Regions from separate parts of the Homo sapiens genome. Here all the other regions are linked to region 3. Evidence: promoter capture Hi-C in 16 types of primary human blood cells and fetal thymus (Javierre and others, 2016). All regions are on one chromosome and are shown on one strand. The core of a region is centred on a gene start or on the middle of the fragment in contact, and the rest is flanking DNA. Distances in the headings are between cores, read along the strand shown.

Region 1 (3,921 bases), core at 1,102-3,601, 4.0 Mb before region 3:
AGTGATGCTGAGCACTTTTTCATGTTCTTAGCTGACTTTTTGGTGGGATTTTTTGGGTTTTTTCTTGCTAATTTGTTTTATTCATCCCATTTCTTAATAGCCATCTAAAGATTTCCACCATACTGGGAAAAGTCCCATGACTCTTCTCTTTGTTTTTCCTCTGTTTCATCCCTATCGGTGTGTTCTTTTTTTTTTTTTTTGAGACGGAGTCTGGCTCTGTCGCCCAGGCTCGAGTGCAGTGGCGCAATCTCTGCTCACTGCAATCTCCGCCTGCCGGGTTCAAGCAGTTCTCTGCCTCAGCCTCCCAAGTAGCTGGGATTTCAGCTGCCTGCCACCACGCCCAGCCAATTTTTGTATTTTTGGTAGAGATGGGGTTTCACCGTCTTGGCCAGGCTGGTCTTGAGCTCCTGACCTCGTGACCCACCTGCCTTGGCCTCCCAAAGTGCTGGGATTACAGGTGTGAACAACCGCGCCCGGCCCAGTGTGTTCTTATTCACCTTATTTCTTAACAACCATAAAAAATTTCCACCTTCCTGTGAGGAGTCCTGTGACTCTTCCCCCCTACCCTTCATCATTCTCTTGTTAATTAACCTAATGTTTGTATTAGCATCTGTAAGACTCATGAGGGGAAACTGAGCAAGTACATCTCATAAGGCTTCTTGAACTATCTCTCGATTTTGTGGCAACAAGGTTAAATGGGGCATCCACATTAAAGGGGCGCCCCTAATCGCATCATTTACCATGACTTGGGTAGCAAGGCATATTCAGTGCTTGAATAATCTGGTGGTCATAAACCCAGGCCCCACATGGCATGAATACAAAGTGTATCAGCTGTTTCAGCTTGACGTTTATAGGTGGAGTCAGGCAGTCCCCCTTCTTCCAACATTCAAAACCAAAGACACTGCTCCTAAATTACTCTCACAGTGCATTTTAGTAAAGCCTCCTCAGGAAGCTGATGATACCAATCTAAAAAATGAAACAATTCCTTCACACTATACCCTCTGCTTTCAATGGCTTCTTGATTTTGCCCTTTCCTGACACTGCCTTCTTGGTGCCCAAAGTCCTTAGGGGTGCTTTCTGATGTCGCTGCATAATTTTTCCCTTGTGGGAGCGAGGTTCTGTGAGTCTACTGGCTGAAGCATAGATTGACTGAAATCTGAACTTGGTCTGGCATCGAGGTTTGGCCCAGCACTTTCTTTTTACTTTCATTCTAGCTATTACAGATAACAATAACCAAAGGGTTGCATATTTTGTTTTTTTCTTATTAGTTCGCATTTCTTCATGCATTCAGCAAACCACCTTCCAGGGAGTTAGATTGATCCACCTCTAAATTCCATTGGTAACTTTTACCTTTAGTGACTGATGCCACTCCATACCATGGGTATGGAGCTGCCACTCCATACCATGGGTGACCACATGGGCACCCAGGAATCAAAGGTTTCTCACCCCCCAACCCCTTTATCTGTTTTCTTCCCAAACATGAGCTAGGGATGTTCTAGCAGTCCCGATTCTGACACCAATTCTGAAAATGCTGAGGAATGAACAAACTCGGTTTCTCCCACTATTTTCGCATATTACAGTTGTGACACCAGATGTGTGGGGGGTTTCCCCAGGCATCAAGCAAGCAATTCATTCTGCAGCGGACACTAGCTGGGCGTCCTCCAATTCAATTCTGACACCATCTACCCAGAGAAGTGTCACATCACACAGATTGAGGGTTCAGTCTCACAAGACCACCCCCAACTTCTGATGCCAGTTGCAAGCCCCAGGTTGTTTTACCTGTGCCTCTGGCCAACCTGCTGTAAATCGGGGTTCCCGCGGCCCATTCCTCAGATTCAGTTAATTTGCTAGAGCAGCTCACAGAACTCAGGAAACATTGAGGTTTACTGGTTTATTATAAACGATATCACAGAGGATGCAGATGAAGAGGTGCATAGGGCAAGGCATGTGAGAAGGAGCACGCAGCTTCCATGACCTCCTTGCATGCGTCACCCTCCAGGAACCTCCTTGTGTTCAGCTACCTGGAAGCTCTCCGTACCCTGTCCTCTTGGGTTTTTTGGGAAGCTTCATTATGTTGGCATGATTGATTAAATCACTGGCCATTGGGGATCAACTTAACCTTCAGCCCCTCTCCTCTCCTTGGAGGTTTAGAGATGGGTCTGAAAGTTCTGACCCTCTGATCCTGCCTTGGTTTTTCCAGTGACCATTGTCCATCCTGAAGCCACCTAAGGGCAGCCGGCCTTCATTCAAATCATCAGCACACAAAAAGATACTTCATCTTCTATAGTAAGTGGGCCTACCTTACACCAAGACTGATAAAGTGAGGGGTTTTCTAAACATAGGAGAGAAAGTTCAGGTGCTGGGCACTCAAATCAAGTGACAGATGTTCACCTCGGGCATCAGCACAGTGTATGCAGTGAAGGAAAACTGCAGAATGACAGCCATGCAGCAGACCTGGAGAACCCCTAGCTAGTCTCAGGTCTGGATATCAGGAGGCCAGAGAGCTTCAGGCAGGAGGAAAAGTGGAGATTTGGTAGAATATCTGATATGATGGAGAGTTGGAAAAAATTTGAGGATTTGGTGAGGGCAAATGGTGCCAACGAGCTAGAAAGACAATTGGAAACTCCAAAGAAAACAAACAAGCTTTACAAGAAAGGATATATAGTCTCAGTATATTATTTGATACTGCAGTGAATACTGTTTATACAGTCATGATGTATAGCACTGGTTTTTTATTTAACCAAAACTAATTATGTAACTATTGGGGGGAAATGGAAGAAGTGAGATGGGTATCGTATCATTGAAGGATGTCAGTACATTAGAACTAAAATGGCTAAACCAGAAATAGCTGTGTGAGCATATCACTTAGAGATACAGAGGTGACCACCAGGAGAAATAGTAAAGGTGGTTCCCCCAGCAAGGTAGCCATTATAGGCTCTCTGAGCTAGTGGGTTTTGAAAAACCATGTGCATCTATTTGTTTTTTAATTGTCTTAAATTATTCTTAAAAACAAAATAAGTTTCTATAGGAGGGACCGCAGTCACCAGTTCATAGGTTAAATGGCTTTTATTCCAAAAGTTCTAAGTCAGTGAGATTGCTTTTCCTTTAGAAACATTCATATATATGTGGTTAGATCCCCAAACTAGTCCACAAATACAGGTTATAGTGAAATTAAAATATCCTAGTTTAGAAATCAAAAGAAGAAAAATGACCAACTTTGGAGTCCATTCTAGTAATCCAAGTGAGAAAGGATGGGGATACGGTTGGAGTTTTCTGCACACCTGTTCAGTTCACCAGTTATTCTTCTCTGAGATAGTCTGGTTTGTGATTAGGCTTCTCACCCAGCGGCTCACAGAGGATGCTACTCTCATTAGATTCTGCACTTACCTCTCACTGTAAAAAGCTGGAGAAGACTTTGGAGCCCTTCATCTTAGGTAACCTCGTCAATGACAGGTTGACACTAGGAGTGCATTTAGCTTGGCATGAAAGGGACCATAAGCTGTCCCCCTTCCTCATCATTCTGTACTCAAAGCCCCTCACTACTCACAAGCACCTCCGAACCAGGACTTTTCAAAATCTCTGCTTCTGTTCTTATTTGGACAGCCCATTCAACTCCTCTGACTTCACTCCCTTATCTGCATAACACAGCTCAAGAGCTGTCACCTCTTAACAATCTCTCCAGACCTCTACCCACTTCTCCATGCACCCCTCTTCATGCCCTCCTGGACCCACCCTGGGCTCACTGCAGTATTCATTCATAATAAATTTCCCATTGTTTCCCATTGTTTGCTTGCCTGTATACTTGTTGATAGCAGGGACCACCATGTTGCCTTTATAATCATATGCCCATGCAGGGCTTGGTACATAGCAGGCACTCAATAAATATTTGAATGGATTCAAAAATGATGAGCCAGATTGAGT
Region 2 (4,090 bases), core at 1,207-3,706, 3.9 Mb before region 3:
AGGGGCGGATCACCTGAGGTCAGGAGTTCGAGACCAGCCTGGCCAACATGGCGAAACCCCATCTCTACTAAAAATAAAAAAATTAGCTGGGCTTGGTGGTGCGTGCCTGTAATTCCAGCTACTGAGGAGGCTGAGGCATGAGAATCGCTTGAACCCAGGAAGTGGAGATTGCAGTGAGCTGAGATCACAACACTGCACTCCAGCCTGGGCGACAGAGCAAGACCATCTCAAAAAAGAAAAAAAAAAAAAAAAAAAAAAAAAGAACAGACTGTAGCCAGCTCTTAATATTAAGCCAGACTGTAAAACCAACTACCACCATTTATTAGCTATATAACTTTGATAATATCTCTGTGTCTTAGCATCCTTATTAAATGAAGATGGCAGTGGTAGTCCTTTCTGAAGATTAAATGAATCAGTATATGTAAAGTGGTCAACTTTGTATTTTAGTATTATAATAATTATTAGATATGATACCTGGCACAAAGTAGTAATTCAGGTGTTTTTTTGTGTGCATTAGTGAACAAGTAAAAACAAGTATATTTCTTGAATATAATGTATAGAAGTAATTTTATTCTTTTTATCTTTAAGTTAGAAGAAAAATTAAAGTATATTCCAAAGGTTAGATAAATGCAGTGTGTATGGGAATCCCTTGAGTTTTTCAGTAAAATTCTATTTGGGTGGCTGTCAAGTCCAGTCTGCATAGTCTTGACATGTCTTGGATAAGATCCTTATACTATCACTTTTCCTGTCATGGACACTACAAATTATATTGAATCAGAAATCTAATTTAATCCATTCTTATTCAATTGGAAGCAGTAATTGCTTTCAATTTAATGGGATTGGATTCAGTATTAGAAATTTTGATGTTCCTTCAAACTTAATACAGTATGGTTATATATATTTCCATTTATTTGTGTGTGTTCCTGTGCCCTCGCAGAGAGATTATCTTGGAGTATTACTTGTATTCACTTGAGTTATTTGCAACGGTTGGTAAAGAGGCATATTGTAAGGGTGGGAATGAGAGTGGCATTCTCTTTGTTTTTTTTCTTTTCTACCCATGGAATAATGAAGAGAGAAATAATAAGGGCCTTCAAAATGGGATTTCCATCCACTCAGAAATAAGGAAAGGAAATTTAGAGTCTCTGGAGAAGATCTGGAATGCTATTTACTCTTGAGGGTAGACAGCATCCAGCCCTACTAAAGATGAAAAAAGGAGAGCCTGGGGATGAAATTAAATCCATCAAAAAATTCACTGTTGGTCAGGCCTGGTGGCTCACGCCTGTAATCCCAGGCTGAGGTGGGCGGATCACTTGAGGTTAGGAGTTCCAGAAGAGCCTGACCAACATGGTGAAACCTCGTCCCTACTGAAAATACAAAAAAAATTAATCGGCTATGGTGGTGGGCGCCTGTAATCCCAGCTACTCGGGAGGCTGAGGCAGAAGAATTGCTTTGACCTGGAAGGTGGAGGCTGCAGTGAGCCAAGATCATGCCACTACACTCCAGCCTGGGCAATAGAGTGAGACTCCATCTTAAAAAAAAAAAAAAATTCATTGTTAGCATGTTATTTCAATCTTTCCCGGCAAATCATACTTAGAGACAGCTAAGTTTATCAATTCTCATGTCCTATACGGTGCTTTTTCTTGAATATACGGTAGACAAGAGGTAAGGCCTAATGGGTGAAGTAACTACATTTCTGAGTTAGTGTCTAATTGTTTTTGATCACCTAGTTCCATTTGACAGAAGATGTAGTGCTTATGGCTCATCCCATTGACTCTTTCTCTGCTTTCACTCCTTCAGCAGTGTTTTCAGTAGCCTTTTTGGTGATCTTATTGACTTGTCTTTTTTCTGATGTTCTTTTTAATTGAATTGCTATATGATATAAGATGGAATGATTGTGTTTTAACCATGATCTTCAAGTCTGCTGTGTAAAGAACTAATGATTGCAGTTTGAGTAAAATTCTTAGTAACAAGTGAATCAAAGATAAAGATAGATCATTGAGAATATTTTTTTTCTCTCCATGAGGAAGTTCATTATTAGCTAGCTTACAAAAATGAAGGAATTGTGAGAGTGTTCTGGAATAAATGTTATGGCTTAATAAAACTATTCAGAAAATCACTGAACAATACAAAAGTGGAAGACATTGAAAATGGTATATGGACACATCTAAGATCAAAATTAAGCCAGAGAAGCTTTAGGGAGAGTATTTGAAGCTTATCATTTCCATTTGTAACGGCTTTTTATATTGTGGTGTAAAATCATGTGCAAGCCATAAACAAGGGCTTTTAAAAATATTTTTGTTAATTTTTTTTTAGTTTTATAGAGATGGTGTCTCACTGTGTTGCCCAGTCTGGTCTTGAACTCCTGACCTCAACTGATCCTCCCATCTCAAATTCCCTAGTCACTGGGATTACAGGCATGAGCCACCACACCTAGCCAACGAGGGCTTTTTTTTTTTCTCATTAACATAGAGATATGAAGAATACTATATTGGATTAAAAGTTTTTGCATTTGTGAAGTGTAAGCAGCTGTGTGAATGTAGTCAATGTGTATTCTTCATTTAATAAACATAAGTATCTTTTCCTTTCCAAATTATACAAAAAATACTAAAAGCAATCAAACGATTTTTACAGAATCTTAACTAATATAAAAATTTGTTCATTGCTTATAATACAGAATAATTATATAACTTGGCTCATTATCTAAGCTTAATGAATTAATGTTGGAATGTAAAAACGAGCAATTTTAAGCCAGCGATGGCTCAATCATTTTTAACTGAGGGATTTTGGGATCAATTACTAAAATGTTCTGAGCCTCAGTGTCTTTAAAATGTAATGATGCTCTATTAATCTCATGAAATTGAAGTGAAAACAAATGTGAGGTAATATGTTTTTGGAAATATTTATAAGTTTAAAAATAGCCTGCTTGGTACTTGTGCCTGTAATGCTAGCTACTCAGGAGGCTGAGACAGGTGAATTACCTGAGGCCAGGAATTTGAGTCTGTCCTGTGCAACATAGCAAGACCCCATCTCCAAAAAAGCTAATATATTTATAAAGCTTAAATGTTATAAAATGATAAACTGATGGTTTTTGAATTCTTTGCTCTACTCACCTTTCATCTGTTAAAGATGTTTTTGTACAATTTAGCTCAGTTCCTAAATATACCAAAAGATGGCACTGTTTACCTATGTTTAATATTTTAATTTGCATTTTTTGATGAAAAAGTGTGTTGAATGTTTTATCTACAAATGTTTTAAATTGAGGTTATTTTTTTACATTTAATTTTCTGTTTTGTAAATGGATCTTTAATTCATGTAAAGTTTACTAGGACCAGGTTTCATTTTTATTTTGAAATGGTTTGGAAATTCAGATATTTAACAATCATTTTGTAGATATAAACTCCTGTGTGATCCATTGTAATTAATGATAAAACCTTGTATTAATGTGACAGCTAATGTTTCATGGAAAACCTAGTTGCTTTTGTATAACAAAAACCATTAAATTTTTTAAGCCTCTGAAAACAGTCCAGTGATTAAAACATGACAGCCACAAATAAATTATTTATGTGGCTTTTAGGTCACACTGCCCAGGTTTATTCATTTTAGAAAGTTATTTTATCTTAAAAGTACCTTTGAAAATGTAGCAAAACCTTTCATTGCTTGAATTTCCTACTCACAGTTGTGTGATGAGAGGAGAATCTAGGTCCAGGTCCTGCGAAGAGCTTCTCTGGGTGAGAAATGCAAAAATTAGATAATATGAATTTGACTTGAAGTGAGGGTTATTTATATAGCAGGATGTGGTGAATACACTTCCCATACAGTTAGACGGAAACCTCCTGATTGTTCATTTATACAGCCTATTACATCCAATGTAGTTTATGACCTAGAAAGAGAATACAAGTAGGATATTTTTTTATCCCATCAAAGCTATCTATATATATATATATTTTTAAATGAACAGCATTTGTCAGTGATTTTTACAGGGGTGAAAAAGCACAAGACAGTTCCATTACTATTATAAAATGTTTTACTTTTGTTGTGGGGGTAAGTTTAGAAGTCCAAGATATAATAATTTCAGATGTGCTTCTACTGT
Region 3 (4,094 bases), core at 1,521-4,020:
CAGTCTAGAAAATGGGGGAGAAGAGGCTGGGCACAGTGTCTCATGCCTGTAATCCCAGCACTTTGGGAGGCCGAGGTGGGCAGATCACCTGAGGTCAGGAGTTCAAGACCAGCCTGGCCAACATGGTGAAACCCCATCTCTACTAAACAATACAAAAATTAGCCAGGCATGGTGGCGCGCACCTGTACTCCCAGCTACTCTGGAGGCTGAGGCAGGAGAATCACTTGAACCCAGGAGGCAGACGTTGCAATGAGCTGAGATCGTGCCATTGCACTCCAGCCTGGGCGACAGAGTAAGACCCTGACTCAAAAAAAAAAAAAAAAAAAAAAGTGAAAGAAAAAAAAGAAAAAGAAAATGGGGGAGAGGATGAATAAGGGTGGGAACTGGGGAGTGGAGGTTCCCAGGACAAGGGCAGCCAAAGGAGAAAGGAGGGAAGAGGTCCCTCTCACCTGATGGTCTTGTCCTTGTAGGCCCTGGTAAGGACAGACACCCAGCCAGGCGCTAGGGGGCATCAGGACAGGCTGGAAGTAAGACAGGAGCCAGGAGGAAATTGTTTACACTCTGAATGGGGGCTTGAAGAGGGGCACAAAACTGAGGGAAAAGGGGAGGGCCACATTGTGAACTTTCTAAGCTCCAGGCGCTTTTGCCTTTGTGAAGTACTTCCTGTCACAAAAATAAGTAAACAATAAATAGAAATCACATTTTACATCTGCATTGGTGTAAGATTAACATATTAATATGCCACCTAAAACTTCTTTTCTTCAGATTTTAGAATAAATTAAACATTTGTGAGTGCTCCTAAAAGTTTTATGGGCCCTTGGCATCGTACCTACTGTGCGTAATGGATAAGTCATCTGGGAAAGGGAGTGGGTACCGTTTGAAATAGAACCTTAAAAAGGTAAGTGGGCTAGGGTAATTTTTGAACAAGAGAGGCAGCCACAATTAACTTGGCTTTTCTGGGCCTCAGTTGATTGAGGCCTCAATTGAATGATTTCCCCAGGCCAGTAGAAATGAGCCCTGTAATCCCAGCACTTTGGGAGGCCAAGGAGGGCGGATAACTTGAGGTCAGGCATTCAAGACCAGCCTGGCCAACACGGTGAAAACCTGTCTCTACTAAAAATACAAAAATTAGCTGGGCTTGGTGGCACACACCTGTAGCCCCATCTACTCGGGAGGCTGAGGCAGGAGAATCGCTTGAACCCGGGAGGCGGAAGTTGCAGGGAGCTGAAATCGCACCACTGCACTCCACCCTGGGTGACAGAATGAGTCTGTCGGTCTCACAAGAACAAAACAAACAAAAAACAAAAACCACCACCAAAAACAAAACAAAACAAAAACAAAAACTCCCTCCGCAGGCAGGAGATGTAAACACGCCAGCTCCCCAGCCCCACCTGTGATACCTACTGGCCCACATCCCTATTAGGACTCCCTGGTTCTCCCCAGTTCCTGCAATAAAATACAGAGCAAAATAGTGTGAAATTGATTAAACTCTACTGTTATCACTTCTGCCATATGTGACTGGCTCAAAACTCAATGGATCTGACTCAGCAAAAGACAAAGTCAAAATTTAAAGTTACTGCCTCGGCATTTTGCAAATGTCCTAGAAAAAAATTCAACGTCCTAGAAAAAGGTGAAAGCTAGCAAGATACTCTCAACGCTGTAGGAGTTGAGAAAGGGAGATATGTAACCTAAAATCAATGCATAGGGCTGGGCTTCATTTGCACCCACAAATTCCCAGCATACGCCTGCTATTTTTATTTTTATCCTCATTAGGTTTTAAGCTTCCCTGCTGCTTTCAGAGTCTTAAGCCCAAGTCTAATTTTTTAACGGATGAAGAATGCTGTTTAAAGGTGCTCAAATACCTTGGTTGGATAGTATGCTCAATCCTTATACCTTGGTTGATTCAATTTTGACAAATGCTTCCATTTACTAGTTGGTGACCCAACTTTAATCTTACTAGTGGCTTGACTAGGGTAGCTAGTATGACTTTGAACGCTATATTGAATTTAATGTGGCAACTGTAATGAGCATTTTACGTTATCTCACAACAAAATGGGGTAGATATGGTTCTATTTTATAAGTGACTGGACTAAGGTTAACCTGTCGGTCACACAGCTTGTCGGCAACAGACTTGAGTTTGGATCCTAGTCTGTTTATTTCCAAAGCGCTGTTATTTATCGGGAGCAACCCTAGGAGAATGCCTAGACACACACCCAAAAAAGCAGCCAGGCAGCAGAACGCGGGGTCACACTTCGACCCCTCAGAGAACGATCGCTCCCAATCAATACTACGTGCTCAGGAGCTACAACTGAAGAAGCGTGATCACGGCCTTGGCATTTAGGGCAGGCACCAGCGCATCTATGGACCGCGCACAAATTCCGGGGATGCCGAATTTGGGGGATGCTAAGGGGAGAGAGTGGGTCTCTAGCAGCGATTGGGGGCTCAGGAGCAGTTAGTGACAAATGAGCACCCGAAAAGTGAAAAGGTGACAGCAGTCCGCAGGTGCATCTACTGGCGAGCCTTCTCCATCCCCGAACCCAACCCTCCCCCGGGAGAAGGTCGCGCCAGGAGAGAAGCCGCGCGGCGCTTAGGGCAAGGTGCAGAGGGCGGCGCGGCGGTGCAGCGAGAAAGACGCGGAGAGAGGGCGCTGCTCTGTGGCTCTGCAACCTTCCGCCAGCTCCCACGCTTTCCCCGCGCGTCCCCGGCGCCTCCTCGCTCCTCTTGCTTCCCCGCGACCCCTGCGTTCCCGTGCGCGCGCGCCCGCTTGCCTGTTTCCTGTCGCCGTCGTTGCCCGGGCCATGGCGACCTGCATTTGGCTGCGGAGCTGTGGGGCCCGGCGCCTCGGGTCGACGTTTCCAGGCTGCCGCCTCCGCCCCCGCGCCGGCGGCCTGGTCCCTGCCTCCGGGCCTGCGCCCGGCCCGGCCCAGCTCCGCTGCTACGCTGGGCGCCTGGCGGGCCTCTCTGCGGCGCTGCTGCGCACCGACAGCTTCGTGGGCGGCCGCTGGCTCCCGGCCGCCGCCACCTTCCCCGTGCAAGACCCGGCCAGCGGCGCCGCTCTGGGCATGGTAGCCGACTGCGGGGTGCGAGAGGCCCGCGCCGCCGTGCGCGCTGCCTACGAGGCTTTCTGCCGCTGGAGGGAGGTCTCCGCCAAGGTGAGAGAGCCCGGATGCAGGGGGCCAGAGCTGGCCGGGGACACGGCGGGGAGCAGAGGGGGCTTTACCCCAAAGTGACACCAGCCGCGTCGCCTCCCTCCTGTGCTCAGTTCCCCAGGGTATACAAAGTGGAAAGTCAGAGCAACAAGGGAGACGACCGACAAATAAGTTTGGAGCTTCCACTTTGAGCCGGGCACTAGGGACACGACCCCTGCCCTCAAGCCTCATCAAGTTATGCACTGCCCAGTAGGGGAGGCAGAACGTGAGCGCCTAATACAAGCGAGCTGCTTGTTATGGTCAACAAGCCTAACCGTGGAGGGGCGGGGAGAAAGGGGAGGGGTGTCAGGGAAGTGAGAGCACGTGTGGCCCTTCAGAGTAGCTGAAATATCTCCGCAGCTGCAGGGAGCCCACGCAGGAGGCTGCTTCAGCGGCCCTTGAGAAGGCTGGTAGTGAGGGCCCCTGGCCAGAATCATGGGATCGGAAACGGAGAGAACTGTAGAAAGATTTGGGTTTTGTGCAGGGGAAGAGAGAAATCCAGGAGCGTTCTCCAGGTTTTCACCCTAAATGGATAAATGCTGCTATTGGCCATTGCATAGAGAACACTGGAGAATTGGGAGTAAGGGGTGGAGGGCCATTAAATGGGAAGAATAGAGTAAGAAGAAAACTAAGAAAGTAGTTTCTTCCTTCTAATATTATATTATTAAACCTGGAGTCAACGCAGTGAAATTTTTTACCGTGTCCTTCAAAGCTCTCCCTCTGAAGGAATGCATCCAGCGATCCCTACGAGTACAAGAGAGTCTTAGCACTCATTCATCCATCAGCTGTTTACTGAGCACCTGCTGTATGCCCTGCACTGTTGGAGGTGCTTGGGATACCTCAGTTAAACGAAAGAAGGATTCTGCCCTTATGGAGCTCACATGGGGTGGAAGGGGAGCAGAAGAG

What was found. Contacts are between HindIII fragments. The CHiCAGO score rates a contact against its expected background, and 5 or more counts as called.
Region 1: a fragment that was not itself captured here is called in contact with the fragment with the promoter of ALDH5A1 in region 3 in 1 of 17 cell types (erythroblasts); the score reaches 5.6 in erythroblasts.
Region 2: a fragment that was not itself captured here is called in contact with the fragment with the promoter of ALDH5A1 in region 3 in 1 of 17 cell types (fetal thymus); the score reaches 5.5 in fetal thymus.

Annotation. Positions count from the first base shown.
Region 1 is chr6:20,466,501-20,470,421 of GRCh38, forward strand. All of the region lies in intron 1 of E2F3 (E2F transcription factor 3), which reads left to right. Among named protein-coding and RNA genes, the nearest start is that of E2F3-IT1, 31 kb to the left of the region's middle. RefSeq lists an enhancer at 422-1,063. The HindIII fragment of the contact is 579 bases long and covers 2,063-2,641 here.
Region 2 is chr6:20,561,211-20,565,300 of GRCh38, forward strand. All of the region lies in intron 4 of CDKAL1 (CDKAL1 threonylcarbamoyladenosine tRNA methylthiotransferase), which reads left to right. Among named protein-coding and RNA genes, the nearest start is that of CDKAL1, 29 kb to the left of the region's middle. The HindIII fragment of the contact is 494 bases long and covers 2,210-2,703 here.
Region 3 is chr6:24,492,199-24,496,292 of GRCh38, forward strand. ALDH5A1 (aldehyde dehydrogenase 5 family member A1) reads left to right here and starts at 2,771. Exons shown (of 10, transcript NM_001080.3): 1 at 2,771-3,152. The coding sequence starts at 2,799. It also overlaps a transcript of GPLD1 not described here. RefSeq lists a silencer at 2,777-3,166. The HindIII fragment of the contact is 3,166 bases long and covers 1,780-4,094 here.